Linked DNA regions of Homo sapiens: all the other regions are linked to region 1. The links are contacts of gene promoters, found by promoter capture Hi-C in blood cells and fetal thymus (Javierre and others, 2016). All regions are on one chromosome and are shown on one strand. Each heading gives the region's core, a stretch centred on a gene start or on the middle of the fragment in contact. The rest is flanking DNA. Distances are from core to core; before and after follow the strand shown.

The links. Contacts are between HindIII fragments. The CHiCAGO score rates a contact against its expected background, and 5 or more counts as called.
Region 2: a contact is called between the fragment with the promoter of BCLAF1 here and the fragment with the promoter of HBS1L in region 1, in 2 of 17 cell types (total CD8 T cells and fetal thymus). The highest score is 5.9, in total CD8 T cells.
Region 3: a contact is called between a fragment that was not itself captured here and the fragment with the promoter of HBS1L in region 1, in 1 of 17 cell types (fetal thymus). The highest score is 5.0, in fetal thymus.

Annotation. Positions count from the first base shown.
Region 1 is chr6:135,052,743-135,056,495 of GRCh38, reverse strand. It overlaps HBS1L (HBS1 like translational GTPase), which reads left to right and starts at 1,674. Exons shown (of 18, transcript NM_006620.4): 1 at 1,674-1,847. The coding sequence starts at 1,805. LOC124901405 (a long non-coding RNA gene) reads right to left here and starts at 1,603. Exons shown (of 2, transcript XR_007059775.1): 1 at 1,010-1,603. RefSeq lists an enhancer at 1,466-1,515. The HindIII fragment of the contact is 2,164 bases long and covers 973-3,136 here.
Region 2 is chr6:136,287,772-136,291,524 of GRCh38, reverse strand. It overlaps BCLAF1 (BCL2 associated transcription factor 1), which reads left to right and starts at 1,679. Exons shown (of 13, transcript NM_014739.3): 1 at 1,679-1,812. It overlaps LOC124901408 (a long non-coding RNA gene), which reads right to left and starts at 1,511. Exons shown (of 4, transcript XR_007059784.1): 1 at 1,368-1,511. RefSeq lists enhancers at 984-1,103, 1,424-1,643, 1,008-2,207, 2,154-2,273, 1,692-2,288 and 2 more. The HindIII fragment of the contact is 10,003 bases long and covers 1-3,753 here.
Region 3 is chr6:136,247,961-136,251,713 of GRCh38, reverse strand. MTFR2 (mitochondrial fission regulator 2) reads left to right here and starts at 1,403. Exons shown (of 8, transcript NM_001099286.3): 1 at 1,403-1,738; 2 at 2,561-2,677. The coding sequence starts at 2,615. RefSeq lists enhancers at 934-1,083, 1,734-1,953. The HindIII fragment of the contact is 454 bases long and covers 1,783-2,236 here.

The sequences.
Region 1 (3,753 bases), core at 425-2,924:
ATTTTTAGTAGACAGGGAGTTTCACCATGTTGGCCAGAATGGTCTTGATCTCTTGACCTCATGATCCGCCTGCTTCAGCCTCCCAAAGTGTTGGGATCACAGGAGTCAGCCACCGCGCCCGGCCAATAACACAATATTTTTAAGCACCTACTATGATCTGTGATAAATCCTCTTATACGGATACATTATTCACAGCTCGCGAGTTAGTGTCTCTATCTCCTTTTTACAAAGAAACAGGCTGCAAAATAAAAATTACCTAAGGGTGTAAAATAATAAAAACACTTAAGCCATGTAACATTAGCAACTATCTCTATTTTTCTGTAAACTTTTATTTTGGAGCCACATTAAACAACTATTTTTGTAGTCAAACACATTCAAATGCATGAATAAATTACGTTCCAAGCCACTTACAAATATAAACTAAATTTGGATTACTCTTATTTCTTTCTATTGTGCATAGCAAAAAGCTGAGGAAGCTTTTAATTATCTCTAGAACTCAACATTTGCCTTTGATGTGAAGTATCATCATTTCAAAAACACAAGCTAAAACTGAAGTGGTGTTCAGTATAATGAGGTTGGTTTCTTATATAGCATTATTAACTTTATGTTCTGAGAAATGAGGACATTTAATAGCAGGTTATAGATTCATGCATCAACAACATTCAGCATTACCACCTAAGGCCAGTGCTATGTCTAAAAAGCTATATTTAATACTCGCAATGTTACACACAATTATGTCTTCAATGAATGTTCAGTGAATCCTTCTTTATGATGCTGATAAATATCGTCTATATAGCTAAAATCGTTTACATAGCTAAGGGCAAATCGCTGTTTACTAGGGATAGTAATGCCGAACGGAGTGAATACATGAAGTCGTAAATTATATGAATGCAGGGTGACCTAATATAGCCAGGGTCTCAATTTAATAATATATACCCGTTTAAAAATAGCCTTATTTCCTTCTCTAAAGCTTGGACTCTTTTTTTTTTTGAGATAAGGTCTCACTCACTTTGTCGCCCGGGCTGGAATGGAGAGGCCCGATCTCAGCTCACTGCAGCCTCGACCGCCTGGGCTCAGGGGATCCTCCCACCTCAGCCTCTTCAGTAGCTGGGACTACAGGTCTGCACCACAGGGCCGGCTAGTGTTTGTATTTTTTGTAGAGACGGAGCCTCGCTATGTTGCTCAGGCTGGTCTCGAACACCTGAGTTCAAGCGATCCGCCCTCCTAGGCTTCCCAAAGTGCTGGGATTACAGGAAGGAGCCACCGCACCGGCCTGGGCTAAATCTGATTCCAAGTTTACACAAGTTTGTTGAATGCCCACTGTGTGCTTAATGAAAGATCAAAGTTTGATAAAACAAGGTCCCTGCTCTTACTGAGCGCATAGCTTTCTCAGATTATCAGGAACCAAATTTGGAAAATAATCCAGAACGCTGGCGTAGGTAGCTCAAGGTTCCCCGCTTGCAACATTTAGTCCAAACCAGTCAATTCTAGGCGGCGGATTTCCCCATCCCCCTCCGTCGCCCAACCTTTGGGTGGGGCCACTCCCAAACGCTCCCTCCCCTCGTCCCGCCATGCACAGCAGTGCGCATGCGCCCTCAGGGAGGCGGACAGTGACCCTGAGGCATTGCCGTCGCGCGGTGCACAGCTAAGACGTCGCGCTTGCGCAGGCGCTCGGCGCAGAGGCCTGCGGGAAGCCAAGATGGCGCATAGGGGTTCTCCAGGCTGCAGTTGGCGCCTTATCAGTATCTAAGCGGAGTGTTTTGGAAGGAGTTAAGGGGCTGTGGCAAACGCCCTCTCCGCCGTCATGGCCCGGCATCGGAATGTTCGAGGCTATAACTACGATGAAGGTAGGTGGCAGGGTCATGCCGGGACGTTCTTTTCCCGGCTACAGCTGGGATCCTAGCCCGTTGGCATCCACTTCAATCTGTGAGTTTCTCGTCAGTGTTGCCCTGTCGGGATTGGGAGAGCCCCAGTTGGGGAATATAACAGGCCTTCTAGTGCTTTCAAATGCCGTCGTTTTTAAGTCATGATTTCTGCCCTCTGGGGTTGATTTTATTTGGGGAGGGGGAGGTGCTGCATAGCGTCATATGGGTAGGATATTGGTGAGGTTGAGATCCGGTGATATTTAGGCACGTAAGCATTATCACCTCTTCCATTGTTTCCTCCCATGTTGGGCACTAACGTGCCTGCTTCTAGCTCCTCTCTCCCAGATCCCCTTTGAGAAATGTCCATGAAACGTTGCTTATTTGTAAAACACAGATTGACTTAATACATTCAACGGACGTGTACCTGTGTTAGATTTACATGGTAAACCTTTTGTGTATGTCCATACATACCTAGTGCAGAATCAGTTTGCGCTAATTTATTTTTCAACGAATTTCAAAGTGGAAACTTAGGAGACGGTAGAAAAGACACATGTTAAAAAGGCCCAAAGAATGAGTCGATCAGATGGATCTTGAAGTTTATACTTAGTTCTTGGCTGGTAATGCTTGATATAAATGTATTTTGAAATGTAAATAAACGGCAGTACTAGAGGAAAGAGTGTATAGGAAAGGACTTTTTGATATTAAAAAATGAAATAAAAATGTCTGTATGAATGTTCTGTAGGAGTTAACAGGAGTTAGAATTATTTTTAGGAGGAGCACATCCCTCTTCATGCAGTAGATAACTATAGGCATCACCAAGCATCACATAAACTAAAAATATAAACAAAAATGAACTAATGCAGGAGAAGAATAAAGAACTATGCTTTACGAAGTGCAGAACATGTAGTGCTTAATATGTTGGTGATTGTCATTGGCACCCCAGTAGATTATTATAGAACATCAGTATGCTTTAACTAGAGTGAGGGCAGCTAACACCCTGTTCTCCATTTGGAACCTGTGACCTCAGTCCGTCTAGAACATGTGAATTTTCTGGTGGTTACTTTAGAATGGAGGCCCTTTTAAATAAATATTGCAGTGGATGGTATTGCATGTGGACCATTGTCACCTAAGAAATGACTTTAGATTGAGAGAGATTTTTGCAAATATAAAGTACATGAATAGGCCTATTTATTATTCATTCATTTCTTTAATAGTTGTTTATCATTTCCTCAACCACCATTAAGTTAGTGCTTAGAGTACTGTTCTAAGCTTTGAGGACTGAAAGTAAGATATTTGAGGGTGGTCTAAAAGGAGAAGATTATACGAGTTACAGATTATTAGAGTATGAAAAATGCTACAAAAGGTACTGAGAAAACGCTATGGGAGGGATACACAGATGAGAACACTTAATTCAGAATGGATTGGGGGGAATTTAAGCAGGATTTCTACGTTAAGGAATGCTTCATGGAGGAGAGGTGGTTGGCCTCAGGGAGCACCTTGGCTTCTTGAGGTTAGGTTGTCATGTTGTCATGCTTCTTTGAAACAATTGGTGACATCATAACCAAGCTGTTCCTGTAACATTAAGGAGGTTCATCCCCTTTTCTTGTTTATAAAAGTTGTACTCATTAAGGTCCAGTTTATTTCTCTTCTTCCCAGTTAGGCTTTCTCTTGAATTCTCAGAATAATAATTTAAAAATTCTGTTAAGAAATATAACCTCATTAGAGAGAGTTTGTGTTCTAAAACCTACTGGTTCCGCTACTTAACTCCCACTTTGTTTTTCTCTGTAATTTATGTAATACTTTACATGACTGCCTCAGTCACTGATTTAAAAGTCTCAGGAAGGCAAAATCCATACTTTAAGTAGCTGGCACAATGTTCTTTACATGT
Region 2 (3,753 bases), core at 430-2,929, 1.2 Mb before region 1:
ATTTATTACAAAGAATGAATCTGTAATGGTGGAATTTCAGGTTTTGAAAATAAGAATGTGCATAAAACATCTAAATTCAAGAACCTCCTACTTTGTAGATTGGGAAAGCATCACGTATCAAATGGATCTATTTCAAGGGAAGTCTGTATAACTTCCACTTACTAAAGGCTTTGTTCCAAAGGATCTCCTTTGTTACTACCTCATGTTATGTAAATAAAATCATAATCAGTTATATTGCCTCAAATAGATACTTCATTTTCAACACATGTGCAATAGAATTGCAGAGGGAGGTCGAAGATAATATCCTAGCCTGCAATTTGGGGTATTTTGAATAAATGAATAACAGCATGTATTGGGAGCGCCCCGACTCCCAATACATGCAGAATAGCAGACGTGTATTGAGCCCTTAGTTGTTTTTTTTTTAAATATAGTTCATTCACTCAACAAATATTTCTGAGAACCTGCGAATGCTTGGGACATCAGGGCACAACAAAAAGGCCAAGGATTTCTGTGTCCACATCCTGAGGTGGTAATGGGGTGAGGGACAGACTGTACAATAAAAAACCTACGATTCACTCCATGAAAATGTTGTCGTTTTTCTAGTTCAGCTGGTAAACTGGACTGTGAAGAAAGAATGCTCTAAGCACAGTGTTAAATTCACAACCAGGGCCCAATCCTAGTTTCGATTCACTCACTGACACCCTGGTTGCTAATTACAAGTCTGAAATCCATCAAGGTAGTTAACATCTCTAAACATCAAAGCAATAGCGGTTTTAGGCCCTAAGAAAGTGCAGCCCGGAGAAGTATTAATGCAAAATGTGCTACGGCTGTTATTTAAATTCTATTCAAATCGAATGTGGCTTGCCTATTTATAATCTGACTTATAATTCTGGACAACCAAGCTACGTTGGGCTGTGTTCCTCGGCTGCCACAAATCATCGTCACAGGCTGAAAGCTCAACTGCTTCGTGCTCTTTATTTTTTCATGCCTATGCCAACGTTGCCGATGTGGTAAAGCTGTCATCACGCCGCCAGAAGGGCGGCCTTCTTTGGCACGAGCAGCCTAAGAGGTTTCCGGCTGCTGCGGCTTGAGCTCCGATTTGATCAGACGCCACGAAAGGGATTTAGATCGTGGCCATTTTTCAACTAAGTGCGTCTGCCGAATTTAATAGCAAACCAAAAGCCACATTTTCTAATCTCCAGTTAGGCGTCCAAGAGGAAAAGTGGCGCTTGCTGGCTGAGGGAGCAGCGTGTCTGCAATTACAGCCACGTCTTGCCTCCTGGTCTTTTCCTCAGTGTGGGATTGTCTTTTTGTTTTTTGCCTGGTCTGAGCCGGCCCCACAGAAAGAACAGACCAGACGAGCTTACTGAGGTAAAACGCAGGGGCGGCGGTGAGGTCTAGGGGGTCTACTCAGAACGAGGCAGAGACACCAGCGAAAAGCGCCGTATGGCGAAGCTAACTCAGGCCTGACAAAACACCCACCCTACTCTACCGCCTCTCCGGCCAAGGCTGACGCTACGGGCCAGAGGGCGGAGCCGTCACATCTTCCCGCGAGACCAGCCACGCGACTTCCCAGAAGGCCGCAGGCAACATCTTAATAGCAGCCAGGAAGCCGGACCGGAGCGGAAGGGTGGGCGGGGCTTGCCCGCATATTTAGCGGCACCCGAGGCCACGCCCCAGATCGGAAGTGACGGAGACGTGCTAGCGCGTCGAAGGTAGCTCTATGGTTTTCCTCGCGTTCTTGAGTCGGGAAATGGCCGCTGTGTGGTTGCAACGGAGATAAATTCCCGGAACCGCGATTCGGCGTGTCAGGTAGGCCTCGCAATGTATTCAAGTTACTCCAGGGGCAGTGAAGACCGAGGACAGGCCATATTTTTGACTCTTTTGTGGGTGGTGTCGGGTTGGCGGCGAAAGGAGAACCAAGGAGACGTTGCGCCGTTATTTATGCGTTTTTTCGTTAGCTTCTCTCAGGTTTTCGAGGCACTACGGGCCGAAAAGGCCGGGCGGGGGCGCTGAGCAGTGCTAACGGCGGGCGCGCGCGTGTTTGCGAACCTGCCTGGAGACCCACAGCCCGCGCGGCCTCCCGTGCGCGTGCGCATATCTTCCTCTTCCACCCTTCCCCCATTTCTTCAGCCCGTACCTCTGCGCGCGCCCGACTGAACGCTCCGCGCACGCGCGCTCGTTCATTTTTCTCTCCCCCGCCTATGGCGCCGACGGCCGCTGGAGGTGCAACTTGTGTCCGCCTCTCATTGGCTGGGACTGCCACCTTTCTTCGTGGCCTGTGGGGTTTTGAGAAAATAACTGTGACCCGCAGCAAAGTGCGTTGAGTAGGTCTACCCCTTTTCGCGTGGTCTTTAAAACTGCCCTCCGGCTTCAGACCACCCGTCAGTTAATGCCTCGTTTTTGTGATGCTACTAGGTTTTAGTGCTCTGTTCTGCCTCTCGCTGCTGACCCTGGTTCTCTGGAGTTAATTTCGGTACCCGCGGCAACCTGCTGTTTTGAAGCGAGCGCGCGCTGTTGACTGGTGCTGGTTGCCTAGTTACGGTTCCCTAGCGAGAGGATTGGGTCTTAGCTGGTGGTTCTGAGCGTGGCCCTGCCCCATCCGGCTGAAAGTGCGGTTCTTCATGAGTACTAGCGAAGCCGAGTCTTTTCAAGTGATTCAGCCCATTTAGTCGTGTCAGAAATGTTGCAGCCACGATTGGTGGACAGCTGGTGTGAGAAATGGGTGGGAGTGGCGAATTGGACTTTGCCTTCATTTTAAATTCATGAGTTGGCTTGATTCGCTTTTAAGATTTATTTCTTCAGAATCAAGCTGAAGTACCAGCAGCTACTTTGCTACCTCAGACTTTTTTAAAAAGCATTTTAGAACTGGAAACAAATTAAGACTGAAGTTGAAAGCAAGTGTGGCTAACACTGACGAAAAAGATGAGCTACTTCAGACTTGTACCTCACTGCAACAGCCTCTTTTAAATTTTTTGGTGTTACAAAGCAAAACAAAATTTCTTGTTCCTCTTGTGAATTCTCATTTCAGTTCGACTTTAGTTGGAATGGTTAGGATACTGTTCAGGCAGTAAATAACCTTTACGTAGGAAAAACTGCTACAAGGCTTTTGTATTTTTGTTTGATCATGACCAATTCAGGATAGGTAATTTGATGGGAGGGAAAAAGTGGCCCCTCGGCGGGAGTTTGAGGCTGCTGTGAGCTGTGCTCGTCCCACTGCACTCCAGCGGGGGCAACAGAGCGAGACCTTGTCACTTAAAAAAGGTAGCTCATGGTAAACAACCTTGGAGCACCTTCTCTTAGTGATTTCATGTTTCAACCAGTACATTGTGGTGAATACTGAAATATCTTGTTTAATTCAGATAATTAAAATGGTGGCAAAGGAAGCTGTTTAGCCAGAGCCCTTCTTGACTTTGAGGAACAGTGGTAGTATAAGACTTGAAGACAGACGTGTAAAAAGTACTACTCACTGGTAGGCTCAGGTCTGGTTGATTGACTGATTCTTGAGACGGAATGTCGCTCTGTCGCCTAGGCAGGAGTGCAGTGGCCCAGTCTCGGCTCACTGCAGCCTCCGTCTCCGGGTCCAAGCGATTCTCCTGCCTCAGCCTCCCGAGTAGCTGGGACTACAGGCGCCCGCCACCACACCGGGCTAATTTTTGTATTTTTAGTAGAGACGGAGTTTCACAATATTGGTCTCGAACTCCTGACCTCAGGTGATCCACTCGCCTGGCCCACCCAAAGTGCTGGGATTAC
Region 3 (3,753 bases), core at 760-3,259, 1.2 Mb before region 1:
ATTAACCTATGTTAATAGTGCAGCTGGAAGAGTAGTGGTTCCGTTCTCATTCTGGAGGGATGTTTTCATTCTGGCCCTGTCTGTTTGCTGTTTGATAAGAGAGTGGGAAAGGGAGGGGGTTATAAAGTCGTGATTTATTCACAAGGGCAAAGGGAAGGACAAGGAACTTGAGAAAATTACTCCATCTAGGGTTTCTGATCCATCATCATCCTTGTTCTGCGCTCACTCAGCCGTATCCAGCTCTACTGGGCATATCACTATTATTGCTATCAATTGTTTTGCTAGTTGCTTAGTCCCAAATCATTATCATCTTTTCTGTCATTCCACATTTAGGTATTTTATTCAACAAATAGACTGAATGCCTATTATATACCAGACACTCTTCTAAAGCACTGGGGAAAGATAGAGCATGGATCAAAACAACTTCCTGTTCTCCTGGAGTCTACAATTTTGTTTGGTGGTAGTGGAAGCGTAACTAAATATATATGATAAGTGCTATAGAGAAAAGCAAATTAGGGTTAGAATGGAACGAGATGCCCCGCTGGCCTGTAAGCTCCAGGAGGACGAGGACCTGCCCTCTCATTAAGGTATTTTCCGTGCTTAGAATGGTGTCTGCTACGTAGTAGATATCTATTATTGGTTGAATGAATAAGTGATGTTGACCATAGATAAATTAGTTCAAAACTTAGATTTTCAAATTATGTCAGTAGCAGGCACACATCTTAAATTGTTATATCACTCCAGTGCACGTCTTGCTGAAATTCAGAAGAGGAAGCTATTTCGTATGAAGCCAATAACCTCAAATCAGAAATGAAAACTGGGATATCACCTGTCATATCACTTGCCATCCTCGGCTAAGCCAGGAGAGTGTCCGGCCCAATATTCGGTAGCCTGGATACGTAGGTGTATTTAGTGAACGAAAGAATGAATCCTAGCCACTGCAAAGCTGCAAAACCCTCGGGGGTAGTGCTTGGCTTCTGCCAGTTCCACAAGTATTTTAATATTAGCTGAACAAATGAAATGACCAAAAAATAAATCGCGATTTTGTGTCAGATGAACTTGGGAAGGCGGATGCGCTTAGGGTCCGGCTGTAGCGAGTAAGACACTCCCTGCGAAGAGTTCTGTGGGGTACGAACTCCGGACTGCGAGTCCAGCTCACGAGTTTGTACCTAAAACCTTGCCCTGCGGGAGCGACGCTGTCCTAACGCGACCTGCCCTGCCCGTCAGCTCCTATTGGCTGACTCTCGGAAGACCCGCCTCTTGAGAAGGAAAAGCAGTCGCTTCCCGAATTGCCTGACATCATGCAATGACCAATCAGAAGCAGCGATCTTCAGTTTTGCCCAATGAGGCTGGTTACGGGTCCTGGCCCGCGGAGTTTGATTTCGTCCTGGGATGCGGAAGTAGCAGTCCTGTCATGCGGAAGTAGCAGTCCGGTCCTAGGGACTAGCAGGTGGGTTGGTTGGGCGCAGGAGGACGGGGGCGCGCTTCCCATAACATTACCCTGGCTGAGCGTGAGGCTCCAGGGCTGGGCACCGGGTTGACCTCTTATTCCTCGCTGAGGGCATCGTTACCGCCTGTGGCTGCAAGCCGAGGCGCGCGGGTGGAAACTGGGTCGAGGTCTGGGTAGACGTCTGAGCGATCTGCACAAGGAGTGGCGCAGTCTGGAATTTGATTGAGGATTCCTAACGCCCTCCGCTTGATGTTCTGGTGATTCCCGGGGGCTCGGCTTCGGAGGAAGGTGAGCAAGGCTACCACGCTGTGTTTGGAGAGCACCAGGAAGCTTGTGACCAAAGCGAGGGACGCGATCCGGCTCTGGTCACGGCCTGTTACTAGATGGGTGACCAAGTCACGTCCCGTATCTGGAATTCATGCTTCTCATTTTAAAAGAGTGAGGAGGGATGGGCATTCCACATGGCTGGGGAGGCCTCACAATCATTGCTGAAGGCAAATGAGTAGCAAAGTCACATTTTACATGGTGGCAGGCAAGAGGGCTTGTGCAGGGGAACTCCTGTTGATAAAACCATCACATCTCATGAGACTTATTCACTACCACGAGCATAGTATGGGGGAAGCTGCCCCCATGATTCAGTTATCTTCACCTGGCCCCACCCTTGACACGTGAGGATATGTGTGTGAGAAGAGCTACTGTTTATTTTTTTAAAAACTGAGTCGTCCCTTGCCTGCTTTCAAGGGTTGGCTAAACTCACCCATCTGCTAAGAGTCTCAGCCCAAAGCTTTCAGGAAAGAGCGAGCTTCGCTGTGGCATGTAACTTGAAGCCTTGCCTACTAAGTAGATGTCCAGTTTGTTGATTGGTCTCTATTAACTAGGCTCAAACATCCTACGAGGTTTTAATGTAATCTAACCAATTAATTGAAATTTCCTTTACAACCCTCTCTTTCCCCCAGACTTCCCCTTCCTTTCTTTTTCTCTGACTTAAAAGAATGCTGGCTAGGAGAAATTAGTTGACTGTGTCGTGTATCAAGAGGACTTTTCCAGGTTATGTAGTACAATTTGGCATTTATTTGTCAAGAGTAACATTTTCTAAAATTTTCCCCAAAGGCACCAAGAAACTGATAATGTTCCTTTGAATTGGCTTCTGTATTTGCTTCATCAATGTCTCTCATACTGAATATCTTAAGAGAGATGCTGGAATATTTTGGCGTTCCTGTAGAACAGGTAAATGTCGTTTTGGATTGGAATGGATCTGTTGTATTTGTTCTTGGGTTTCATTTTGAAAATGACTTATATGTAATCATTTGATTTAAGGCAAAGTTGTTGCTTCTTTTTAGTTGGAACAAAGGTGAGTTTGTAATAGTATAGCTTTGATGATTTGAGTTAGAAGAGGGATAAGATTATTGAGAACATATTTACCTGATAGGACAAATGCCAACAGAAGATACAAAGGAAGCAAAATATAGACATGAGCTTCACAGAATTACATTTATTGCACAGATACATTAAAACTTCTATTCAAGGTAATTTATAAACAAGTTCAATATTTAAAGCTCAATAAATCCAGAATAAATCTAATGGAAAGAGGATGATTTAGGCCTGAGAATTATAAGCTGTATTAGTCTGTTCTCATGCTGCTAATAAAGACATACCGGAGACTGGGTAATTTATAAAGGAAAGAGGTTTAATTGACTCACAGTTCCACATGGCTGGGGAGGCCTCACAATCATTGCTGAAGGCAAATGAGTAGCAAAGTCACATTTTACATGGTGGCAGGCAAGAGAGCTTGTGCAGGGGAACTCCTGTTTATAAAACCATCACATCTCATGAGACTTATTCACTACCACGAGCATAGTATGGGAGAAGCTGCCCCCATGATTCAGTTATCTTCACCTGGCCCCACCCTTGACACGTGAGGATAATTACAATTCAAGGTGAGATTTGGGTGGGGACACAGCCAAACCATATCATAAGCAAATCAAATTTTATCTACTTGTTGAAAATCTGCTGTATCTAAGACAATATGCTTGTTTCTGCAGGTAATACAGAGGAGTAATACATGGTTGTATTCATAATGCTTAAAATATGAGGAATAAGAAACAATAAAGATAACTGTAATATGAGATTGTAAGGAAGACGGGTGGGGTGAATTAGAAGAAAGTAGTCAAGGATAATTTAAGATTTTTTTAAAGCAAAAGTAAGTTGAAGAATCATAGTACCATTATTATAAATGGGCATCTTAGTATGAGAAACTAGTTTGAATATGGAGATGAGGTGAGTCAGAGGTGATGTTAGAACAT